Linked DNA regions of Homo sapiens: region 2 is linked to region 1. The links are contacts of gene promoters, found by promoter capture Hi-C in blood cells and fetal thymus (Javierre and others, 2016). All regions are on one chromosome and are shown on one strand. The core of a region is centred on a gene start or on the middle of the fragment in contact, and the rest is flanking DNA. Distances in the headings are between cores, read along the strand shown.

Region 1 (7,032 bases), core at 1,832-4,331:
TCCCAACCAGCAGCATCCTCATCACCTGGGACCTTGTTCAAAATGCACATACTCAGGTCCCACGCCAGACCTACCAAATCAGAAGCTCTGGAGGTGGGACCCAGCAATCTGTGTTTTGATAAGCCTTCCTGATGATTCTGGGGCAAGCCAAAATTTGAGAACCACTGTCCTGTTTACTGATGGCCGAGAATCTTAGAACCAAATTGGCAGCTTCTCTCTGGCAGCTGTTTTCTAACCCCTCTCCCCACCACCTGAGAGGTAGAGAAGGCTTCTTCAGCACCCTTAGATGCCCAGCTCCTTAGAGACTTAAAAAAACATTTTTACAACACCAACTAAATTGGGCTGTGAACCAGAAAACACAACTTCAGAAAATTGGTAACTTATTCATTCAACTTCTAATACTTTTCTGAGTCAAAAAGCTGCATTAGGATTGTATTACAATTCCTTATCTAAAACCAAGTAGTTGTTTTGAAAATCTTGGATGATAATATTGACCACTTATGTACTAAAAACAAAAAAGGATTTCATCATTTTGTATAGGCCAAGTGCCTAGCTAAAAATGATTAACAAGACATGGTTATCTTTTGCTAGTGAATTATAAGGTTGTAAAAGAGATACAAAAGCAAATGCATTTAAATTATCTATCATGAATCACTGGTTAGCCTGGAAATCTCTTGTTCTTTGGTTAATAGAACACGCAGAAAACCTAAGCCTACAATGCCAAATGAGCAAATATGGCTCATTGTCAGGAACTGAGTGTTTTTCAGCTCTTGTCACTGATTTTTAACCTTTCAGAAGCCAAAGAGAATCTGTGTTTCATCTTAGTTCTGTTGAGAACTTGTGAGACCTTGGGTGAGATACTTTCCCTACTCTGGACCTCATTTCTGCCTCTGCAAAATGAGAGCATTTGATTTGATCATGTCTAGGGTCACTTCCATCTCTGATATTCTGGGATTCTGGAATTCTAGAGATCTAAGACCCCCACTGCTCCAGTACTACTCCAATACAACTACTCTCTCTTGACCGCTCTTGATCAGAAGGAAGAGGGAGAAGAAAAAGTATTCCAGTGGCTGCAGCCTGCTGAAAGCATGAGTGAGATCTGGGAATTCAGATAATCTCAGAAATCACATGCAAGCATTACAGAACTTACAAAACAGTGCCATGTGGAGATCGGCTGTGGTGTGAATTGGAAGACATGGTTTGCTCCTTGGTAAATGATACACAGGAGTCCCAGGGAGATTTTATCATTAGTTTGCTGAGAACAAGATGTGAACCCTTTAAGGAGCCCTTTTCTGTAGAGACAATCTTAAAGAACCAGCCCAGTGTATGAAATTACTAGAGTGTATATATCTGAAAGCTTAGGAACTTGGGTTTATGCAAACACTCCCCCGCACCCCCATTCCCATCAAAGGCAGTTATTTAGCTGAGTGATTCAAGCTGTGGCAATAACTTATAAAGGGTGGGGGATAGGTGTGGTTTGGGGGACTTAAACCACATCTGTCTTCCACCCTTCATGAAATTAAGGAGGTAATTGATTCAATTCATCCACTTCACTTTCTCTGAAGAACTGATTGCCCCTACTAAGTATAAAGAACAACCTTTGTTGTTCCCCCTGTTCATTAGCTAGCCAAATACTTTGCTCTTTTTCACTTCGCTCCCCAGACTACTTTCTAATATGGTTATATTTATGAACACCTCACTACATGGTTTCTAGCTGAGAGATTATGCATTGCATTTGATAATTTCAGAGAATATTTCTTAGCAGCTTCAATTAGTAACTACACTCCAACTGCTAGCTTCCTGCTCCCAAACAGTGCCCCCACCACAAACACATACATATAAAGCACATGGTTATGTTTTCTGTAAAAAGTAGCTTCTCTGGCTGGTACTGAGGTGGTTGCCTTAAATGTGTACTTCTTTCAGTTGATGTAAACATCATCTACATGCCCATCATCCCTGGAGTCACCTATTTCATTTCTTCATCTGCAAATGATGATTTTCATTCTTAAAAGTTCTTTTGTGTCAGGAGCTTGAGCAGTGATGTTCTGTATTGTTTTGTTTTGGAATAAGGCAGGTTAGGTTCCCTTTAACCATTTCTAGAGAGAAAAATCCTAAACAGCCCCTTAAAAGAAAACATGGCATTAAAACAGACAGTCAAACAGTAAAAAGTGGTTTTATTAGGACATTTAGAGACAAAGCAACTGGTGCTGTGCCTGGATTTTTCATCTCTTAAAAGGTTGTTTTGGCTGGGTGTGGTGGCTCATGCCTGTAATCCCAGCACTTTGGGAGGCTGAGGCAGGCGGATTGCCTGAGGTCAGGAGTTCAAGACCAGCCTGGCCAACATGGTGAAACCCTGTCTCTACTAAAAATACAAAAATTAGCCAGGCATGGTGGCGGGCGCCTGTAATCCCAGCTACTCGGGAGACTGAGGCAGGAGAATTGCTTGAACCCAGGAGGTGGAGGTTGCAGTGAGCCAAGATCGAGCCACTGCACTCCAGCCTGGGTGACAGAGTGAGACTCCATCTCAAAAAAAAAAAAAAAATTAAAAAGGTTGTTTTGATAGTGTACAGCACAGCCTGGATAACTGCAAAGTTGGGGTTTACCACGTGACAGAGCTAGGTATTAAGCCCAAGTGACCTGAATGATCACTCCTTGGAGGTGACATAAACCCTGTCGAAGTGTAAATGATCTGTTGCTTCACCATCTCTCTGATATTAAATTTTGAGGAGTGGGTTCAAGGTTGTGCTTCAGGGGACACCTACACTTATTTATCATGTAAAACAAAATGCACTAGACTACCATGTGATTGCAGGGGGATAAATGGTTTTTTTCTTAAAAAAAATTGACAAAACCTATATAGACCATCCTGGGTAGATATGAAAACAGGGTGATTCTAATAATAAATAAGACGATTTAATAGGGTCTAGTTGGTCCCAAGATTCCCCAACAGGGAAGAATAAGCAACTGCAGAGCATTTCCCCAGCCCCCTCCCTCTCCTTATGACAGGACACGCCAATAAAACTCCACCTCCTACTCTTCAGTGCCAGATGGGTAAGCATTTAGCCAAGCATGCTGGGAGACACACAGAACTGAAGCAAAGGAGTATCTGGATGTCTTGGATTTTCTTCCCATTCTGTTCTGTTCTGTTCTCCTAATACCATCTCGTTACTAGACGTAGGCATTGGACGTGACAATCAACTGCATTTGAACTGAGAAGAAGAAATATTAAAGACACAGTCTTCAGAAGAAATGGCTCAAAGGCAGCCTCACTCACCTAATCAGACTTTAATTTCAATCACAAATGACACAGAATCATCAAGCTCTGTGGTTTCTAACGATAACACAAATAAAGGATGGAGCGGGGACAACTCTCCAGGAATAGAAGCATTGTGTGCCATCTATATTACTTATGCTGTGATCATTTCAGTGGGCATCCTTGGAAATGCTATTCTCATCAAAGTCTTTTTCAAGACCAAATCCATGCAAACAGTTCCAAATATTTTCATCACCAGCCTGGCTTTTGGAGATCTTTTACTTCTGCTAACTTGTGTGCCAGTGGATGCAACTCACTACCTTGCAGAAGGATGGCTGTTCGGAAGAATTGGTTGTAAGGTGCTCTCTTTCATCCGGCTCACTTCTGTTGGTGTGTCAGTGTTCACATTAACAATTCTCAGCGCTGACAGGTGAGTTTCTTTTCTCCATTATATTTGCCAGGATGTGAAATTGGGCAAAAAGAAAGGAAAGCTTGTACTTAGCATTTACTGGCTACTATTCTGCTTTTCTCACACTCTGTAACGTGGATGTGAGATTGGAAAATCTGGTGGCATTTAAAATAAAAGTTAGTGTAAGAATGTTAAAATTTCTGTGTTAGCACGGAGGAGAAGTTGAAATTGCATGCTTTATGGATAATTTATTCTTATTGTTTGCTCGGAAGTATACTGAACGGGGTTTTTATTTTTCTCCAGTTTATTAAGTAAAGCAAATTGTTCCAGGTGTAAAGGAAAAAAATTCATGCTTTATACATTAGTGCAGCCTAGTGGTGCAATATAGTCAACATGAAAACCAGGATAGGTGTGAAATTGACCACATATGTATAACTGTATATTGGAAGAGTGGTAAAAAGACACAGGCATCTAATTTATTTGAAATTCATCAAATTAGCTAATGGCAGAAAAACGGTGAGGTTTTCAACTCCCTGGTAACTTAGTGTAATGTCATCACGTAATTCTACTTGTTTTCTCTGTAGGCATTCAGTGACATTATCATTTCCAGAGAAATAAATTAATCTTGGTTGACTTTTAGAGCTCTGTGGAGAGAGCGTGTGAGATCCTCTTGCAGTCAGGGTGTTCAGATTCTGTGTTAGGATATTTTCAGTCCAAGTACTCTGTTTTTCTGTGTTCCTATTGTAGAATAACTGTAAAAACATGAAAAAATTTGAGGCTCCAAATGTTAAAAATGATGCTTTACAAAGCCTGCAAGATTCCTGTAAGTAATCGATGTTTGGCAGTACCAGAAGGAATAACTTCTTCAGATTCTAGAATCTGAGAGGAGGAAAACCTTTCCCTGTGTCTTTTGATGATTTTTGCTTTGACTGGTCTTATATTCTATTTGAGGGCAGACTGGCTTAATGACTGTAGATTTTAAGGTGGATTTGTTTGAATGAGGAGGTATCTCTGTACCGGCACAGGACTTCTGATTGCAACTTTGCCTCGCCCTAAATCTGTCCACTGATCAGGTTGGGCAACGAATTAACACTTACAAACGGGGAAGAAATTAATCCTCTCCTCTTTACCACATAAACCCTTGGAATTCTCTTCTAGGAAGGTTGATAACTGTTCACTCATGAAGAAAGGAAAATTAATTCAGTTTAACATCAGTCACTTATACAAAAGAAGTCTTTTAGGTACCTTAAGTGTATTACACTTAAGGTAATACACAGGTGGTGAATTACTCTCAGTCACACATAAAGTCATGCTGATAAATGTTTATTTGTCCTAAATAGAGAGTCTATACATAAAATTATAAAATTGCAAATCTGGAATATCTCATAGGAGTGAATAATGGAAAAGGAGATTAGCATAAATAAAAATATTGGGATGTATTATGTGCATTTAAAACCATAGCCAATTCTAGTTGGTTAATGTTGACTTGGTTATACACATATGCACGGAGGGTAGAACTGGATGACCACTAAGGTCACTTCTCACCCTAAAATTTGGTAACTTTGACATTTATTTGGACCTTTGCCTCTGATTATGTGTTTCTAGATACAAGGCAGTTGTGAAGCCACTTGAGCGACAGCCCTCCAATGCCATCCTGAAGACTTGTGTAAAAGCTGGCTGCGTCTGGATCGTGTCTATGATATTTGCTCTACCTGAGGCTATATTTTCAAATGTATACACTTTTCGAGATCCCAATAAAAATATGACATTTGAATCATGTACCTCTTATCCTGTCTCTAAGAAGCTCTTGCAAGAAATACATTCTCTGCTGTGCTTCTTAGTGTTCTACATTATTCCACTCTCTATTATCTCTGTCTACTATTCCTTGATTGCTAGGACCCTTTACAAAAGCACCCTGAACATACCTACTGAGGAACAAAGCCATGCCCGTAAGCAGGTATGTATTAATCAGTACTCATGCAAATCTAGTTTGAATTTAGAAGTGAAGTTCCTACTTTTGCACAGTGAGTAACTGTGTATCTTCCTGTTTATAAATGCAATAGCAGTGTAGTATTTTTGTTATGAGCATAGGCTCCGGTTTGAATCCCAGTTCTATCACGTACTAGCTGAGTAATCTTGAGCAAGTTACCTAACCTTTCTGAGCCTCGGTTTCCTCATCTGTAAAATGAAGATGATTACTAGATGATATAGATGAAATGCTTAGGTGCAGAGTAAGTATTTCAATAAATGGTAAGACTACTACTATTAGAGAGGGGACAATTGAAGTTTGAGAGTAGTCAAAATTTTTTACCCCATGGAATAGTGGGGAACACTGCATAAGATGATACTATGAAGAAAAGCATCTTTTGTTTTAGAAAGTGTAACAGAATAAAAATACATAGCATATAGAACTGGCAAGAATCCGTAACACTATTCAATGCAAACCACTTACACACAGATGAGCAAACTGAGGTGGGGAGGAGTGAGGGGAAAGAGTGGAATGCAAGTAGCACGAGAACACAGTGACTCACAGAAGCTTGATTAAGACCACTGCAAGAGCCACGTGTACCCTCCCTCTCATAAATATGGACAGAATAAAAGGAATGTTGCCAAAACATAGTTCCATTTGATTAAAAATATTTTTCTAACCTCTGGGAAAGGGGGAGAGAGGATTCCATTTACCCCTTGATCGGTACGCAGAGAACTGTGCCTTTTTTAGAGCTAGTCCATTCAGTTAGTTTAACAATGGTGCTCATGAGACTGAAGTTGCATATTTAATACCCATGTGAACCAGTTACCTTTGCTCTATTTGTGACCACAGGCTATATATTCACCTAACTTGGCTCATTTCTCTTATTAATAGATGTAGGTAGGATTATCTTCACATAAAAAGGACAGCACATTTTGGATTTACTTCTTTGACTATATGGTTAGAATTCCTATAGAGTAAAAACAATTTTAGTTACCAGCTTGGCAACTTTCATAGACCTCAAAACAATATTCTGACCTAGTCAGCTTCTGCTGATGCAGTGAAAGCAATTTTGTATAGCGTCTCTTTGTTTTTAATTACAGTAAATTTTGGAGAATTCCACGGCATTCTTCGAGTTAACTGCAGACATCCTAGAGTATCTCGAAATTAGGGGGAAAGGTATCTCTGAATTAGAGTTAATGAGCCCAAGATCAGAGGTTACCATGCCAATTGACTTGCTGTGTTATATAGTCACAGGCTGACTTCCTGCACATCCCAGCCAGTTAGCATACAAATGCATGTTCAAAGGGAAATCAGCTGTAATTAACTGTAAATTTCTATGTAAATTTATAGGATAACTTTTTAAAATCTCTCACAGCTAAATGTTTTGTTTTTTTTGTT
Region 2 (7,032 bases), core at 2,503-5,002, 570 kb after region 1:
TTACTTTGTATTTGGCTTCCTATAGCATAGGTGAGTACCTGTTATCAAAACACGGGTGCAAAAGAGAGATGAAACAGGGATGCAAATGAAGAGAGGATGAAATGAACATTGCGCTGTGCAAAGGAAATGATTCACATTTTCACAAATTCAGTGGTCTTTTTATAAACTATACCTGTCAGCAGACCTCACTGTTTGAAGTAAACAAGCTCAAAAACCAGAAAAAAAGCAAACAAGGCTATCTTTTTTACTTGGTGGAAAGTGGTAGATGTTCTAAGTAGAGACGCAGCATAATTCAATTTCACAACTCTCTGAGAGCTGCTATGTGCCCAATGCTGACATGGTTTCTGCTCCTGTGGTTCTCATCAGCCCACTGGGGAGACAGACACACAGGAGAGAATCAGAGAACAGGAGATGGAAGCAAGCAAGTTGCTATAAGGTGGTTCATACATCAAATGCTGGGGGGAGGTCAGAGGTAGAAGAAGCTGATGTGGGCTGAGAACTTCTGGGAGGAGCTAAGACCCTAGCATCAGCAGTTCGTACCAGTGTGCTTGGTAACACCTCGGGGCCAACTGGACACTTTTCGTTCCTCTGTGCACAGAAAGCAGATCTTGCAAATCCTGGCGAAAGCCCATGCCCGAGTCCGAAAGAAAAGGCTTTGGGTGTCTGGGGCCGCTGCAGCTCCTGGTGTGTGCAATCAATTCCTAACTCAAGTGCAGAAGGCTTCCTTCCCTCAACCAGCCTGAGATACAGCATTCAAAGCACACCAGAGAAAGGTTGGGGGGCGGGGGGACGTTTCCAAGGTGAACACCGATTAGAGCCAGCTTTATTTTCATGAACTCATATGCATATTTTTAGCTCCCATATTTCCTGCTGGTTTGAAGAAGTGTATAAGCAACCATGTGGACAGCTGTGCTTCCCATCAGTGAGGCAGTGCTGGGAAGTAAAAAGAACATGGGTTCCGTGTGAACTTGAGAGGTTCTACAACCCCTCTGAGCCTTAATTTCCCCTTCTGTAAGTGGGGAAAGTGGGGCTAACAAGAGTAACTCATGGGAACTATCTAGTGGGGCTAACTAGAGTACCTCATTGTTTTAAGGATCAAATGATTGGTGTGAAAGTGCTCACAGCAGCGGATGGCAAGTAGTAGGTACTATTGTGATGATGATGGTGCAGTTCCGTGGCGTCCCATACAGGTAGCCCCCTGCGGTGTATGGGACCTCAGTATCTTCCAGGCGGGCATACCTCCGGACATCGCCAGCTCTGGGTGATTGTGAGGTGCCGCACGATGGGGTCTGACGGCAATTGCTCATCCTCAGCAGTTTAAAAATGACATTTGGTTGAGTTGCCGTAGGTGTTATGGATGCTTCCCCCTCCTTCATTTGCGTTTTGCTGAGTTGTCGTCAGATATTATGTGGTCGGATGTTCCCGAGAAGTGCAAGCCCCTCCCCGTGGGCCGCCCAGGGGTGGCCCGCGGGCGGTGCGGGCGACTAGCGGAGGTTGGAGTGGGCTTGTAGACTCGCTCTTACTCCCACCCTCTGGGAGGCCCCTAACCCCGCCCTTTCCCTGCTCGCGGCGAAGGCAAACTGCGCGCACGGCGCCCTCTAGTGCCCAGGAGCTGTCACTGCGCGGGTGCCCGCGGCCCCAGCTCTCCCCGCCCCACCAAGGGTGTTTGTGAAGATCCCTCGGCACGGCCGCATACCCCAATCTTCATTCCTGGGTGTCCTGACCATCCCCCACAGACCCATAAGACGCAGATCCGAGACCGCTTCTTGTTTGTTTATTTATTTATTTAGCTAAAAGTTTACTAAAACCGGGGGGCTCTGTCGGTTCTTGACTTTGCGGCACCTGCCCCCGAAGGCGCCGTCTCCTCCAGAGAACAGCGCCTGCGATAGGATTCAGCAGGGGTCACCCACACCCCTAACTCAACTCGAGGTGCGAGTCCCCATCTCGCAGCGCCCTCGCGACTGTCATCTGCTGCCTTCGCTACCATTTTTGTTTGGAGAAGCACTGAGAGGAGAAAGGGGCAGTCTACTCCTCACTAAACGTAACCCGGTGGCCCCAGGCGCAGCCCCATCTCCTCGGATGCCAGGAAGATGCCCGCGTGCCGCTCGCGCGCAGGCGCTGTCGTTTTAGAAAACCCGGTGTTTGGTCAGACTTAGACATCGATTTCTACCACCCTCGCAGCTTCTGTCTATTGCTTGGCAAACTGGTAGAGTAAACTGGATTTAACAAAGGGAAAATAAATTTGCCAGGGCCTGCTGTGCCGAAATGTGGGTTGCTATCAGCACGGGCGCTTAATGAGGACTGAATTATCATTAATACGTGGATGAAATTTATAGTGCTCATTAATACTTCTGAAAGACAACATTCCAGGCGTTGTCTACCTCTTCCCTCTGCAAATGTGGATGGGATTCAAAACGTGTGTCTGGCTCGCGAGCGCACTTTGAAAGGCAATTTAATTATCATTCATTTCTGAATTTGGCCATGGGGCTTGTAACACTGGCCTTCATTTCCCCCCTTCTCTGTGTTCTTAATGACACCAAGGTTTCTCTCTGTTGCCACCTAATGAATTTTACTATTGAATAGCAGAGGCTGCGAGAACATGTATTCATCCCTTCCAATGTTAAAATGTTTTAAAGTACAAAGTAAGAAGAATTATTATTGCTTGAATTATGGCATTATCTTCTCTTATTTGATTTTTTTTTCCTTCTCCCCTCTCCTTTTATGTAAACTCGGTAGGACAGGTTCATCACAAGTAGAACATTCCAATTCAGTACCCATCACTAAAAGTCTTTTCTGTGAAAGGGAGATTTGTAAGAGGCTGGAGAGAGAAAATGATAAGAGAAATACAATTGCAAAAAATATTGCATGCCACCTTCAAACAATCCAAAGCTTACAGCAGCACTCATATTGTATGGGTCTTCTTAAATGCGTGTTTTTCTTCTTTTTCTTTTTCTCCTCTTACATCCTCTACATTTTAAAAGGCCAGTGTTCTAACCCCTGGGCTATGCAGCGAACTGCACATATTCTCTATATGTTAAATTCTATTGTCCGACATGTACAAAATCCAAGGTTCAAACTTGATTTCTTCTGTCAGTTTTCAAATGCTTGCTCCTCTCTGCAACTGTGCAACTTCCTTGCAAGTAGAAGAATTGGGAGGGAAGAGTAGGCCAAATATCAAAGAAGATTCCCACTGCTCACGACTTAGCAGAGACTCATATATCTTTGGCTTACAGGGAAGTAGGCAAGACCCCTGAGAGAATTAGGCAGAGGGCCTGAGGGGCGTACCTCGGCATGGTTAGTTTGTTTGTTTTCTGTATGAGGCGTTCTTCAGTTGGGTTGGTAGGCTGGACTCCCAGAAAGGGCTACTGGGTATTCTCATTGGTGTCACCAGCACTTTTCAAGTTGGGAGGGAAGGACTGACGTAGATCTCCAGGCTGGATGGTGGGTGGGGAGTTGGGCTAGCCTGAGGCCCCTGGGGCACATTTGGCAACTAGGAGTTAAAGTTTGGACTCTTCCTTCTCCGAAGTACTAGTACTTTGAGTGGTTTCCCTCTGACTCAGAGCCTCAGTTTCCTCATGTGGAAATGGACAACAACCACCTACAGGGCTGAGTGAGGATCAGAGAGGTTCATCAAGTGGGAAGCTCATAAGAAGAGTTTAAGTTGTTGTTCATTCTGCTTTTGGTGAGATTGTGGATCCTGAGAACCTGTTGATTTGAGGTGGGGGTGGGGGCACAGTAGAAGGAGAAAACACCTGTCCACTAGAATTCTTTTTTCATGAGAATAGTGAAGTGCAGCAACTCCTAGGAAAGAGAGAGAGGAGGATTCATGTTCAAGAGGACTAGTGCTAGGGTGAGCATGGCGATTGAATAGGAATGTTTCTGAGTTTGTTAACCTATGGACCAGGCTGGATTAAAGAGCTGAGGACTTATCCCAAAACTGACAGGATGCTGAACCATCATCAAATCTACCAGTTGGGTGTAAGGAAAACAATCTCCAAAAGAATGAGAAGCACTGACAGAAGAAGCAAGAAGAATGGAAGTTAGACTCAGAAAGAACTCTGTGAGTGAGGGCTGTGATCAGTGTTCAGCAAAGGGAGGAAATGAAATCCCATTCTGTGGAAACACAGTATTTCTAAAGAGCCTTGCCTGGGAGCACAACCCCGCTGATGGGCAGGCAGTTAAGTGGATGCTTCTGGAGGCATCTTTCTGCTTCACATTTTCGCATAAATACAGATTTCTTCTTACTGTTTTCAGTGAAAGCCAAAATTGATATCTTCTGTGCAGGATTGGTCTGAGAAAAAGAGATTTTTAGAATCAAAGTTTCCCCTTTCCTGAACAGTGTTAGCAATGATGGAATGGATTTTTATTCCAAGGGAGCCTTTTTATTCACATGCTCATTTATGGGCACACATCGAATGCCTGACTATCAGGAAGATTTTAATTTTCACAAGGCAACAAGCAGTTTTGGTTGCTATGGCATTTGTCAGTATCATTTTCACTATACAACGTCTTACAGAGCCTTCTGTTCTATAAAACCTACTTAGAACTTCAATCTTAATGCTGCTGCTTTTTTGTTGTTGTTGTTGGTCAAATGTGTGATGGTTATAGCATTAACAAAGCTTGCTTGGACAACGTAGACTCCCCTTTTCAAGGATTAACAATCTGAGGGGAGCTGTGACATTGCAGTTCTTTAAAGTCTTTATCAGGATTTCTGCACAGATGACGACTTTGAATCTTGTATTCTTTTCTGCCTGACTGGAAAAGTCAGCTTTTGCGAATACATTTAAGGGGAAATTAATCTGCAGCTAAGTGGGAGTGGGGGAGCTATGTGACATGTTATGTAAGCTTCTAAAATGTCTTCTTCCTTCACAAATACAATTGAGAAAATCCCCTTTGTAACTAAAAGTCAATTTCTGCTGGAGGTGGGGTTAGCTTTCATTAGAAACATGATTAATAAGCTTTATAATGCTTATTAATTAGAATGTCTGTCTAGTGGTTGCCTTAAGGAGGGTGGGATCAACCCTTTACCCCTAACTGGTTTGGAAGTTGAGGCTGCTGATGTCACACATGCACCAAGAAGTATGAAAAGGCATACTTGCATCATGAGACTTTCTTGGGAGGGCAGGGCAGGCCCCCCAAACAGGTCCAAAAGCAGACACCAAAGGCTGAGTGAAGGAAGGGGCTAGTGGCTTTGATTTTATTGTAGTTAGGGCACGGGGTTGGGGTGAGAGTTCACATGCATGGGCTGAAGTTTGCATGGTTTGAACTTCCCCATGGGCTCCAAAGGAAGTATTACCTAGACTTTCTTATGGGCTTGCTTAAATATGGGGAAAAAGGGAAAGGGGATAGTTGGGATTGAAAGCTGTTGGCAGTCAAACACCAAAATCGAAGTGAGACTCTGTTGCAATTCACCTCTGATGTTTCACTGATGACTGAATTGTGCTACGTTTTATTTAATTGAATTTGAACTTGTTTAAGTAAGCCATTATGGTGCTCTATGAGGCCTGCAGCCTGAGACCAGTAAGGGAGGTGAATGTTTCTTTGAATATCTTGTTTAAGATACCAGCATTGTGGATTCTGAGAAGTGAAATGAGTGCCTTGGTCACTGTCAATGATGTCTGGAACTCTGAAGAGGATAATTAGTTCCTTGGTGAGGCCTTGTATTATGGTGTTAAATATGTGCTTGATTTGTATTTTGGTTATTTGTGAGGGAATAAATTTCCAGAATTCTTTGCCTTAAAGGGGGAAACCTTGGATAAGGGATCGTAGGTGCCATTGGTTAGACCAGATGGCCGGATTGTTGGTAACATCCTTGATCAGGGACATCCAGGGTAGGAGATAGACAGCAGCAGCTCTCCAGCAACACTGCCATGTGTAAGGTGTACAGACTCCCTTTTCTTATCATCCAGTTGATCCCAAGGGGCTCCCCATGTGGTCATTGCATCTGAGACATGGGTAATCTCCTTTGCATCTCTTAAAGGACTGGGAACAGGAGAGGCCACCCCTTCCTTTCAGTGGAATATGCCAGAGGGTCCAGGTTTGGCTCCATCATGTAAGTATCATTTTCATTTCAATAAGGAGGGGTGTGGCCTTCATGATCAAAAGCATAATGGGCAGCTGGGTGCAGAGAGCCCCCTGTCAGAGTCTCCGTCTCCAAAACAGCATAGTATGCAGCCAGCAGTTGCTGCTCTAATGGTATGTAGTGTGGGGCTGAGGAGAGTAGGTTTTTCTTTCACATCAATAACCCACAGACAACTTATGGTCATCATAGGTGGTCCAGAGACTCCACAAGACACAAGAGGTTGCTAAAACCTCTACAGTGAAGAACTCTTTGGAGGGCACTAATAGAACTGCCATTGCAGTTTAGACAGATTCTGGAGCCTTTTGTAGCAGGAGGTCCCATACAAGATGGGCTGAACTTAAGCAAAAATTGTGTAAGTGAGCTTAAGCAAAAATTGTAAACAAAGAATATGTTACCTCTAGGACCAAAAATGTCTGAAAGATGTTGGGCTTCATTTAATGATGTGGGTGCTGAGAGGGTCCAGCTATGTAGGGCAATGGGCACTATGACCATGGGCAATTTAGTTAAGGCAGTAGTTCTTGATGGTTAAGGTGAAACATACTTGTTTGTTTTCTATTTTTATATCTGGTAACTTCCGTAAGTGAATAGAAGATCCCACATTTACATTTAGTGGACCTCCATGTATAACTGTGATTTGAGCCCTAGTATCAATTAAGGCCATGAAAGTTTGCCAGTTAATGCATTTCAGCAGATGTTAAAGTTAATTTAGAATCTATGTCAGGTGCAAAAGCCAATCAGCACTCTTTCATTTTTCTGTTGCATAAATTATTTTAGTAAATTTTGGATATACAATTTGGTCAAATTTCAGACCTCTGCTTCAGCTACTCTTTCCTCACCTTGTATTAATTTTTTGTTTTGTTGTTGTTATTGTTTTGGTGGTTACCAGATATACCTTATGGGGGGAAAGGGGTTGTCTCTGATCATGTTTATAAATTTCTTCCTCCAGAGAG

What was found. The method cuts DNA at HindIII sites, captures the fragments that hold promoters and counts their contacts. A CHiCAGO score of 5 or more calls a contact.
Region 2: a contact is called between a fragment that was not itself captured here and the fragment with the promoter of BRS3 in region 1, in 1 of 17 cell types (activated CD4 T cells). The highest score is 5.2, in activated CD4 T cells.

The regions. Positions count from the first base shown.
Region 1 is chrX:136,484,866-136,491,897 of GRCh38, forward strand. It overlaps BRS3 (bombesin receptor subtype 3), which reads left to right and starts at 3,082. Exons shown (of 3, transcript NM_001727.2): 1 at 3,082-3,683; 2 at 5,268-5,619. The coding sequence starts at 3,250. The HindIII fragment of the contact is 2,387 bases long and covers 1,356-3,742 here.
Region 2 is chrX:137,050,973-137,058,004 of GRCh38, forward strand. No RefSeq gene overlaps it. Among named protein-coding and RNA genes, the nearest start is that of GPR101, 20 kb to the left of the region's middle. RefSeq lists a silencer at 1,390-1,439. The HindIII fragment of the contact is 1,730 bases long and covers 2,888-4,617 here.